Regions from separate parts of the Homo sapiens genome. Here regions 1 and 3 are each linked to region 2. The links are contacts of gene promoters, found by promoter capture Hi-C in human tissues and cell types (Jung and others, 2019). All regions are on one chromosome and are shown on one strand. Each heading gives the region's core, a stretch centred on a gene start or on the middle of the fragment in contact. The rest is flanking DNA. Distances are from core to core; before and after follow the strand shown. Region 1 has its middle 7.3 kb from the start of LINC01976. Region 2 holds the start of NAGS (N-acetylglutamate synthase). Region 3 overlaps HDAC5 (histone deacetylase 5).

Evidence for each region. The method cuts DNA at HindIII sites, captures the fragments that hold promoters and counts their contacts. A contact is called where the count stands out against the background at its distance.
Region 1: a contact is called between a fragment that was not itself captured here and the fragment with the promoter of NAGS in region 2, in 2 of the 25 tissues and cell types used here (IMR-90 fibroblasts and dorsolateral prefrontal cortex).
Region 3: a fragment that was not itself captured here is called in contact with the fragment with the promoter of NAGS in region 2 in 2 of the 25 tissues and cell types used here (lymphoblastoid cells and spleen).

Annotation. Positions count from the first base shown.
Region 1 is chr17:43,929,268-43,932,727 of GRCh38, reverse strand. It overlaps LOC102724183. Among named protein-coding and RNA genes, the nearest start is that of LINC01976, 7.3 kb to the left of the region's middle. The HindIII fragment of the contact is 7,048 bases long and covers 1-3,460 here.
Region 2 is chr17:44,002,539-44,006,184 of GRCh38, reverse strand. NAGS (N-acetylglutamate synthase) reads right to left here and starts at 1,563. Exons shown (of 7, transcript NM_153006.3): 1 at 1,096-1,563; 2 at 274-548; 3 at 1-161. The coding sequence starts at 1,521. It also overlaps a transcript of PYY not described here. RefSeq lists an enhancer at 1-640. The HindIII fragment of the contact is 21,260 bases long and covers 1-3,646 here.
Region 3 is chr17:44,107,872-44,111,621 of GRCh38, reverse strand. HDAC5 (histone deacetylase 5) reads left to right here. Exons shown (of 27, transcript NM_005474.5): 3 at 822-893. Among named protein-coding and RNA genes, the nearest start is that of HDAC5, 14 kb to the left of the region's middle. The HindIII fragment of the contact is 4,562 bases long and covers 1-3,750 here.

The DNA of each region.
Region 1 (3,460 bases), core at 339-2,838, 73 kb after region 2:
CCTCACTTGAGCAGGCCCCTCCTACCCTCCAAGCTGTAGTTCCAGCGCTCATGCCGGAACTGGAACTGGCACTCCAGGCCGAGGTGCATGGCGTCCCACAGGGTCTCAGCCAGGCTGGGCTCCCTCCCGCAGAGCTGCTTCTGCTGCCGGGACAACTTCAGCAGGTCACACTGCTTCAGGTGGGCCCTGCCCTGTGCTGGGGCCACCGCAGTGCCCAGTCCTGGGAAGGGCATCAGGACCTCCCACCTGGTCAGGCTGGAGACGGCGAGAGGACAGAGACGGGTGAGCCTTGGGGATGGTGGTGAGGGGCAGGTGAAGGGAAGGGAGCCTCCTTGGGTGCCCCCAGTGTGGGTGGAATATACATCATTTCAGGGCTCACCCCAAAAGAAGTAACCCCGTTCTGGGACATCCTGGGCTCCTAGCCAGGGTAAAAGAGCAAAGGTGGGCGAGGTGCGGTGGCTCACACCTGTAATCCCACCACTTTGGGAGGCCAAGGCAGGCGGATTGCTTGAGTCCAGGAGTTTGAGACCAGCCTAGATGACATAGCGAAACCCCATCTCTACTAAAAGTATGAAAATTAGCCAGGCATGGTGGCACAAGCCTGTAGTCCCAGCTACTTGGGAGGCTGAGGCAGGAGGATAGTTTGAGCTCAGGAGGTGGAGGCTGCAGTGAGAAGAGATCACGTCACTGAACTCCAACCTAAGCAACCGAGTGAGACCCTGTCTCAAAAAAGAAAAAGAAAAAAAAGAAAAAAAGAAAAGAAAAGCAAAAGTAGAACCAGGCAATGGCTCCTTTTTTGTTTGTTTGCTTGTTTATTTGTTTGTTTGTTTGAAACGTAGTCTTGCTCTGTCGCCAGGCTGCAACCTCCGCCTCCCGGGTTCAAGCGATTCTCCTCCCTCAGCCTCCCAAGTAGCTGGGACTACAGGCATGCACCACCACCACGCCTGGCTAATTTTTGTATTTTTAGTAGAGATGGGGTTTCACCATGTTGGCCAGGATGGTCTCAATCTCCTGACCTTGTGATCTGCCTGCCTTGGCCTCCCAAATTGCTGGGATTACAGGTGTGAGCTACCGCGCCCGGCTGCAGTAGCTCTTAAAGTGCCACATCCTGCTTAGATGTGGCACTTATCATGTTGCTCATGTGCCACTGGCCAGGGTAAGTCCTGTGGTCAAGCCAGGAGTAGTCAGAGAAGCCCACATTCCTCTGAGCCAAGGGACAGCTCTCCTGTTTGGAGCCACTTGCCTTAACCAGGGCTTCTGACTGGATGCCACATCCTCTCTGTATGCCCCAGAAGTTGGAAGCCTCACCAGAGGGTATGCGGCCTGGCCAGGCCCCAGGTGGCCTCAGAAATCACCCGTAGATTCCACACCCATCAGGTGCAGTCAAACCATCATGGAGCATATCTCTGAAACCTCTGAGCAGAGACAGATGCTATCGGGCTCCCCTTGGCCTAGCCTGACCCTGGGCTCCTCTCCCAGACAGGGTGAGGGCAGGGACCCGTTAATCATTAATCTGGGGCAAATGGGTAATTTTACAGTCCACCAGGTCTACACCCAAACCCCTCCCTGCAGCCTGGCAGGAAGCCCTCAGAGACTTTGCAGGTCCAGAGCAGAACTGGATGTCAACTCCAGCTGAGGAGGCCACGCCTTGACTGGCTTCCAGTGTGGAGGGCAGCTTGGGGGCTGCAGCTACCTTGCCCTCAAATGTCCTCCTCCTCACACCAAGGGCTGGTGTGAGTGGCGACTTCTGCTCACACGATTCCAGTGTTTCAGAAACTGGACCTCCCTGGTAGCAGCTGATTGACAGAGGAGAGAGCAAGCAGGGAGTGATGGAAATTTTGGCCAATGAAGCTGCATATCCTTCAAGACCTGCCTCATATGCCATTTTAAGAATAACGGCTATTATTATTGTATCATCATAGCTACATTATATGTCATATGATATGATATATAACACATTATTATTTTTACTACTTTTTTTTGAGACAGAGCCTCACTGTGTTGCCCAGGCTAGAGTGCAGTGGCATGATCTCTGCTCACTGTAACCTCCGCCTCTCAGGTTCAAGCAATTCTCCTGCCTCAGCCTCCTGAGTAGCTGGGACTACAGGCACGGGCCACCACGCCTGGCTAATATTTGTATTTTTAGTAGACACGGGGTTTCACCATGTTGGCCAGACTGGTCTCGAACTCCTGACCTCAAGTGTCCACCCACCTCAGCTTCCCAGAGTGTTGGGATTACAGGAGTGAGCCACCACGCCCAGCCCAAGCTGTGTTCTTGTCTGGGACTCCCCTATGGTATGGAGTGGAGGCTCTAAGTTGGTTTGCCTAACTAAAGGCGTCATCCTTGATTATGACCTCTGACATCTGGAGAGTGCCAGAATTCCCTAGGCTGCACTTGGGCCCAGGGAACCTCACCTCTACAAAAAAATATAAAAATTAGCTGGGCGTGGTGGCATGCACCTGTGATCTTCTTCCTTTGTGGTGCAAAATCTTATTTCTGCCTACTGGCCAATTGATCAGGAATATGCACCCTGGTGTTTCAATCTCCAAACAATAACATTTTGCCTAACAAACTATTCAGGTTCAGGTTCCTTTAGTAATGCCTGTTTCCTCTCCCCACCCCACACACCAAGCGGGCTGTACATTTCATTCCCGTTAGCAGGACTAAATATCTCTGCTACACTCGGCACCGGGATAGCCAGTTGGAGGACCCCTAATTTTCTGCCTCCTAATACTAACAATTGGCCCATGTGTACTCACCTTCATATCCTGCTTTATCTCCCAAAGGCTGAACTCCCTTGTTCAGGCAACCACCCAGAAACACATGAATACCGTCATTCTCCTCCGCCAAGGCCGGTATCAGCGCCTCAAGGAAAACAACTCTGAAGTCGAACGCCCACTGCTTCAAAACCCACACGCCGAGTACAGCACCCCTATTCGGAAGGAAGTAGCCAGACAATCAACAACACAACACCCCTCTTCCTTTTATATTAAAGTAAAAGGCAAGAATGTTAGCCAAACTGCACCATGTTACAAGTTCCTTGCTATTTTGCAGACCTTGGTCAAAGCGAAACATTTCACAGGGGTTCAGGCCATGAGAAACATCCTACCTAACCACCTGACCACAGGGCGGACAAAGGCCCAACGAAAGAAACATCCCTGGCCTGGTGCAATGGCTCACACCTGTAATCCCAGCATTGTGGGAAGCTGAGGCGGGCAGATCACTTGAGGTCAGGAGTTCGAGATCAGCAGCCTGGCTAACATGGTGAAAACCTGTCTCTACTGAAAACACAAAAATTAGCTGGGTATGGTGGTGCACACCTGTAATCCCAGCTACTCAGGAGGCTGAGGTAGGAGAATTGCTTGAACCCAGGAGGCAGAGGTTGCAGTGAGCCGAGATCACGCCACTGCACTCCAGCCTGGGCAAGAGAGTGAGACTCCATCTAAAAAAAAAAAAAAA
Region 2 (3,646 bases), core at 314-2,813:
TGGGCCGCAGCGCCTTGGCCAGCGACGCGGTCACCTCCAGGGAGTCGAGAAGCACGGAGCGGCGCGCGGCCGTCTCCCCGATGGGGCACAGGATGGGGATGCTGCCCGACTCCAGGCACCACTGCAGCAGGTCTGTCTCCACCGAGACGATGCCGCCGTAGCTGTGGGCCAGACGTGGTGCTCGAGAGGGCCCCCTCCAGGCCTGCCGGACGGGGCAGGGCGGGCAGAGTAGCACGCTCTGAGGACGCCTGGGCGGGCAGGGCGGGCACTCACCTGGCATGGGGAGCCGGCTCGGCAGCGCGTAGCACAGACCCGCCGCCAAAAAATGGCACAGCAGCGGCGGCGTTGTGTCGAAGCGCGTCTACCAGCACCTTGCAGCTCTTGGCCAGCTGCGCCTTGGCCTCCCAGAAGGAAAGACAGCCCGAGGGAGCCGTAGGGGCCGGCAGCCCCAGGACCACCAGCGGCTTCATGTCCATGCGCTGCAAGAAGGCCAGGGCAAAGGCCAGACTGGATACGCCCTGCTGGCACTTGAGCACCTCCTCGTCCACCTGCGGAGGAGTGGGCTTTCAAGGAGCGTGACACGGACCTGAGCCGCTGGCTCCCACAGCCTGGCCTGCAGGGCCGTCTCGGTGACCCTACCCTTCCAGAAGCTGTCAGGACCCAGTTCTGGCCACCAGTGCCCACCTGCTCCGCCCTTTGCCCCGTTGGGTCTTGCCACTCCCTTGTCTCACGCTGGGGTACCTCCCGCCCTCCTCCCTCCGACCTTGGACTCCGGGACATCTTTGGGGGAGGGGCAGTGCAAGCGGCTCCTGTCCAGGTCCTTCTGAACCCCTAACTGCGCCCATGTTGGGGGCCTTCTTCAGAGCATCACACCTGGCGGGTGGGGTCCCCCAGGATCCTCACTCGGGCTGGGCGGGAGGCTTCCGGAGGAGCTTACGGCCTCTCCCATTCCCGGCGGCGCTGGTCTGGGCCCTGCCGGGCTCCTTCCCGCTTCCGCTGCGCAGAGCCCGCAGCGTATCCTGCCATGCCTGAGGACAGGTGGCCGCACAACCCCATCCCCTCGCTGCGTCACGGCCCACGCCGGGCTCCGCTCACCTCGATGACGGCGAAGGGCTTGTCCGCGGAGTGATGGCAGGTCTGGAACTGCGTGAGCCAGTGGCGCGCCTCCCCAGGGCTGGCCCCGCACTGGTTCAGGAAGGCCTGGATGTCCCGCTGCACCAGCGAGCGGCCCGAAGGAGGCTCTGGGGACTCGTGGGGCACCGGGGGCCTGGGACTCGGCACCCACGACGGCTCCTCGGCGACGGGCGACTGGGAGACGTCGTCCGCGCCCGCGTACTCCTCGGGCGGGGGCTGGGGCTGCGACCAGGCGGTGCTGAGCCGGCGCCCCGGGCTGGTGCCCCTCGCCGCCCGCCGCCGCGCGCCACAGCTCAGCCTTCGGGCGCCCCCAGTGCCTCCCCGGCCTCTCAGCCTCGGGGCTACAGCAGCTGCCCGCAGAACCACAGCCATCAGCGCCGTCGCCATGACGACAACCAACTCTTGCCCCCCAAGAGTGGCAGTCTGTCTGGAGCGTCTGGCACTGGGGGGCTCTTAACTTGCCGTTGGGCGGGGCTGGACCTGGTCGGGGCGGGGTCCGGACAGGGGACCAGGAGTCTCCTCTGGGTGCGTTTGAGGAGGGTCAGGCCATGAGTCAGGGGGCGGGGCCACTAGGCTCCCCCGCCCCTGGAGGAACTGAACCCACTATCGGTCATGGGGCCGAGACTAAATGTGGCGGGTTGTCTTTAATCTGCTGCCAAGGTAGGTTCCAGGGGCGGCTTTGGGAGTCTGCAGGGCCTTGGATGATTGGCATTCTGACCAGAGAAGAAGGGACTGTAGGTGGCTTTGAGCACAGGGCTGGGCAGGGGGCTGGAAGGAGGGCGCTGGAAAGAGTAGAAGAAGGGGGGCAGTGGGAGGGCGGGGGCGGGTGGTGCTGGCCTTGTCTGTCCTGTTGCCTGAGCTCAAAAAAGATCCTAATGAATGACCATGAGGTTACCAGGGTTTGCCAAACTCCAGTCACTGGGTACCAGCTTGAGGAATTCTGTGATATCCTCAAAACACCCCTCAAAACTTATAATACTTTAGTGTTAATGCTTTTCTTTATCGAATATCACATCTGGTAAAAATAAAATAAAATAGAGTTTTTTATTTTGGTTTTTGAGATAGGGTCTCACTCTGTTGTTGCCCAGGCTGCAGTACAGTGGTGCAATCATAGCTCACTGCAGCCTCCACCTCCCAGGTTCAAATGATCCTCCTGCCTCAGTCTCCCTAGTAGCTGGGACCACAAATGCACACCACCATGCCCAGCTGATTTAAAAAAAAATTATTTTTTTTGAAGACGGGTGTTCACCATGTTGCCCAGACTGTTCGTGAACTCCTGAGCTCAAGCAGTCCTCCCACTTCTGCCTCCCAAGGTGCTGGGATTACAGGTGTGAGCTACTTCACTCGACCTCTGTAACCCTTTTTTTTTTTTTTTTTTTTGTTTGTTTGTTTGTTTGAGATGGAGTCCCACCCTATTGCCCAGGCTGGAGTGCAGTGTTGCGATCTCGGCTCACTGTAATCCCCGCCTTCTGGGTTCAAGCGATTCTCCTGCCTCAGCCTCCTGAGTAGCAGGGATTACAGGCAGACACCATCACACCCGGCTAATCTTTGTATTTTTAGTAGAGACAGGGTTTCACCATGTTGGCCAGGATTGTCTCAAACTCCTGACCTCGTGATCCACCTGCCTCAGCCTCCCAAAGTGCTGGGATTACAGGCGTGAGCCACCACGCCCGGCCCTCTTTAACCTTTTTAAACTTAAAGTTTATCCATGTTAGGTCTGTAACTAGGCCAGTATCACTTGCCATAAGCCTTAAGAATCAAGTGAGGAGGCGGGTGGGTCATTTGAGGTCAGAAGTTCAAGACCAGCCTGGCCAACATGGTGAAACCCCATCTCTACTAAAAATACAAAAATTAGCCAGGCAGTAGTGGCATGTTTCTGTAATCCCAGCTACTCAGGAGGCCAGAGAATCACTTGAGCCTGGGAGGAGGAGATTGCGGTGAACTGAGACTGTGCCACTGCACTCCCGTCTGGGCGACAGAATGAGACCCTGTCTCAAAAAAATTAAAATTAAAATTAAAATCAAAATTAAAAAAGAATCAAGTGAGAGGAAAACAATGTTATTACATTCCATTATATTCCATCTGCATAGCTTGCCTGCTTTCTTGGTAACATGGAAGGTTAGCAGGTGCCATGTGTTAAAGATACCCTAGCACCAAGCAAAGCCTTCTGTGTGGTAGAGGAATAGCTAACACATGTCGAATGCTAGGCACTATGCAAAGGACTTCACAAATAGTCATTCATTTAATCCTCTCAGTGACTCCAGGATAGCTATTATCATTATTCCCATTTTACAGATGAGAAAATGGAGGTACAGAAATATGTGAGGATCAGGGTCACTCAGCTCACAAGCCGTGGAGCTGGTCTAGGAAGCAGTTCTGCTCCAGATCCATGCTGTTAAGCAAGTTTTGGAAAGGAGTTGAAAGGCTTGAAAACATTCACAGGATATGATTCAATGTTACTTCATACTGTGTCCATGTGCTGGGCACTGTCAGCTGCACACATCCTGCCCTT
Region 3 (3,750 bases), core at 518-3,017, 110 kb before region 2:
AGCCTCTCCTAGACCCTTCCAATTCCTTTACCTGTTCTGGAAGGCAAGAAGAAAGACGGAGGCTTGAGTCTGGCTTCTTGGTCTCCATCCCCTGGCTTGCTTGCCAAGAGTAGCAGCCAGAGCCGCTCCCAGATGCATGGGTACCCTGGCCGGCGCCCTTCCCCAGCCCAGCCTCTGGCCACCCAGCGCTGTGGCCTTGGCCCTGAGTGCAGGCCCTCCCCTGTTCCCATCCCCCTCGCCTGGCGCTTCCTCCTGGGGTAGAACCGCCTCCCCCCCCATGGGGCCTCCTGGCAGCCCGCCCGCAGCTCCCTGAGCATGCTCCACCTATTTATAGACAGGGCCCTCCCCCAACTGCTATTTCAGTCTCCTGCCAGCTGCCGGCGGCGGCTCATTCGGGAAGGAGGAGCAGGGAGCCGGGCCCAGAGCTGTCACCCAGGGTTGGGAGGGAACACAGAGCCCGCCTGCCCGCTGAGCTCCCCTTCCTGTCCCAAGTGCTCAGCCATACCCCAGCTCCCAGGAACCAGGGAGAGGCTGGTGGTCGGATGCCCCTCTAGAGCAGAGCTGGGCCTGCAGCTCTAGGGCCTCCCTGCCCCTCCTGCCGCCAGGAGTGCCCAGGCCGGATGAGGCACTTCCCTACAGTGTGGGTCCCGTCGGCAGTGGCCTGAGGGAACCTGTGCTGTGCGGGCTGCCCGACCACCTTCCCTTCGGTCTGCTCCCCGCCTCTGGCGGCCCCCTCCCTGGCATGCTGCTGGTGCCCAAGGCTCAGGGGCTCGTGGAGATGCTGCAGACCATCTATGAGACAGAATCCTGTTTCTCAGCAGATGGGATGTCAGGTCGGGAACCATCCTTGGAAATCCTGCCGCGGACTTCTCTGCACAGCATCCCTGTGACAGGTAAGTGCCTTGATGTCCCTGCCTGCCCTCTGTCATCTGGCATCCTTGTCCCTGGGCTGAGCATCTGGCCCTGAGCCTTGCACAGATAGGGTCCTGCATAGATCTGTCTTGAGAGTTTTGTTGAGAATACACAGGGCTGGGGGATCCCTGCTCAGAGAGGCCCCTGCCCTCCCTGCCCAGAGCCTGCTGCTCCCCGGTGCCCCTCCGCTGTACTCTGCTGCATCTCTTCCAGTCCCTTCAGTCTCTGGCAGGGTCGGCATCCACTGCTGGGGGCTGGGGGTTACTGGAGGATCCTGGCCTAGTTGGCACTGTGGTCAGAGGGGAGGAAGTGGGTCAGTGACCCGCCTCCATGCTGCCCGCTCCCCAAGTTTGGGCAAGGGAAGAAGGTGTAGCTGGGTGTCCACAAGAATAAAGGTTACTCCAGCTCCTCTGGCTTGGTTCTTGGGGCTACAGGATCGAGTACAGTGACTTCCGCAAGTCCCCAGCCAGGAGTCTCTTGAGAATCAGACACTTGGGGAGGCTTGGTGCAGTCATGATGGAGTTAGGCAGAGGCTGGCAGCTTGGATATTGAGGGGCTTGGCTGCCTTAGCCCCTAGCTGTCTCCCGATGGCGCTCCTCTCCCCAGGTCTGGGTTGATTCCCATCTCATGAGGATGAAGAGGTGTTACTCTGGCTCAGATGGGCTTCGGGACCCCCTAATCCTGCCACCTTCTCAGCAGGAACTTTTTTGGCTCTTGGCTAGGGGTGGGGTCCCCCAGAGCTGGGCCGCTCCTTCCCTCACTCCCAGGAACCTGTTGGCAGCATCAAGCCTTCCTGGCACAGCCTCCCCACCAGGCCGGCACCACAAGATGCTTCCTCCAGGGAGGGGCCTGCTGGACCCATGCCTGCTCAGCCCCTCCTGGCAGTGGCTTGGCACTCAAGTGTGGGTGTCTGTGTGTGTGCGTGTGAATGGGGAGTCCTTGCCTCTGGATATGTGGGTGTGCATCCCAAGCTTCAAATTGGAAAGTGGGAACTGTGTGCCTCTGCAGGTGCCTGTGATTTGGCTCTGAGCTGCCCAGGGATAAGGTTGCAGTGGGACTTGGATGTGTCAGAGCATGAATGTTTTGGGAAGATTCAAAAAATCTTTGGAACATGGCTTATCATCTGCCCAGGCAGGGATGCCCATGCAGTTTTCTCATGTAGGAGCATGACCCTGAAGACTAGCCCTGCAGGGTATCCATGCAGGCCCCGAGGATAGGGGCATTACCCTGGGGCCAGCCCTGTAGGCTGGGGTGGGGATGGGGGTGTAACCTTGGGAACCGGCTCTACAAGATACCCACGTAGTCCCCTGAGGTAGGGGCGTATGCCTGGGGGCCCCCTACACAGGTCCCTGGGATGAGGAATAAACCCAGAGGGCTGGTTCTTATCCTGGTCTGGAGTCCACAGGTCCAGCTAAAGACCCTGCCTGCTGGCCCCTAGCCCACAGCCTCTGGGACTCAAGGTGGTCTCTTGGAAGGCAGAATAATCCCAGAGCATCTGCTTGGGACAGCTCCACGCCATCTGGCTTATCAGGTCCACCCATCCTGCCCTGTCGCCTCTGTTCCTTGCTACCAGCAGCAGCCAGCAGTTGGCCGGAAGTTTCCTCCTCAGCTTGTTCATTCACCTGCTTCCAGATTGTACCCCAGAAACCTTGCAGGCTGGGACCCTGCTCTCTCATCTCCTCCCTAAGCCTGGCTGCCCCTGCATGGACTCCCAGGCAGCCCCTCTGTCCAGATCCCTGTCTCCCCACTCCACCCCCAACGCTGGCTGGCCTTCAGAGTGGTGGCTTGGTCCATGCTGGCAGGAGGGAGGCGTGAGTCACCTCAGCGGCTCGGGGAGAGGGCTAAGAATGTTCCCCCTGCGCAGCTCTGATGCTGTGTCTGTGACGCGGCTAGGGACAGATATAGGCCTGGAGCTCGGCAGCCTTGTTTTTTTTTTGTTTTTTTTTTGTTTTTTTTTTGGACTCTGGAATGTAAATAGATGTTTCAAATAGAAACACTTTAACCTTTGGGTTAAAAAAAATCCACCCCGGATAAACACGGCCATGAGGGCCCAGGCAGCCTGGTGTTTCCCTCCCCACCCCCTCTCCCCATCTCTTGATCGGTCTCCAGACAGGATGCAAGATCCTATGGCTGAAAAAGCAGGTGTCCAGGGAAGCTTCTTTGGATGGTGTGAGTTGCGCAGGTCTCCCAAGCCCAAGGGGTTGGGGCAAGGGTCTTTCGAGGGTGGTGCCTGCCTGCCACCTCCAGCAGCATCTTTAGAACCCTATTTTAGGGATAGCCTTTGCTCTCTGGGCTGTCTTGGTTGTTGCCATTGCCCAGCACCTAGCACAGTGCCTGGCACATGGATGAATGAATGTCGCATGGGGAGGGCTGGAGTCCAGAATTGCTGGCAGGATTCCTGGGCTCTATTCTGGGGCCTGGACCTCTGGGTGAATAGAGACAGCTTTAGTGAGTCACCCCAGCGGGTAAGACAGAGCCTTAGCCTACCGAAGGACAGGGGCAGTCTGCTGTTCTTGCTTAAAGAGTGGGGCGGATCTCAGCATCTGCTCTTAGCGATCAGAGGTCTTCCTTGATGGATGGGGTCTCTGCCTGGCCACCCTACCACAGCTCCCCAGTGCACAGTGGGCACCACCATCATCCCAGCTTAGTTCTGGCTTGGGGAGCCTGGGAGTTTGAACTCTAGTATGGGATTCTCAAGGACACAGAGGTGGGGAATTCTCTGCCTCCCTTATGTGGGCCCTGGATTCCCCTTTGTCTTGTACTGGGTGGAGCTGATGCCCAGACAATACGCAGGACTTTATGAGATGGCATGGAGGAGGAGTCTGCTTTTCCCATGGA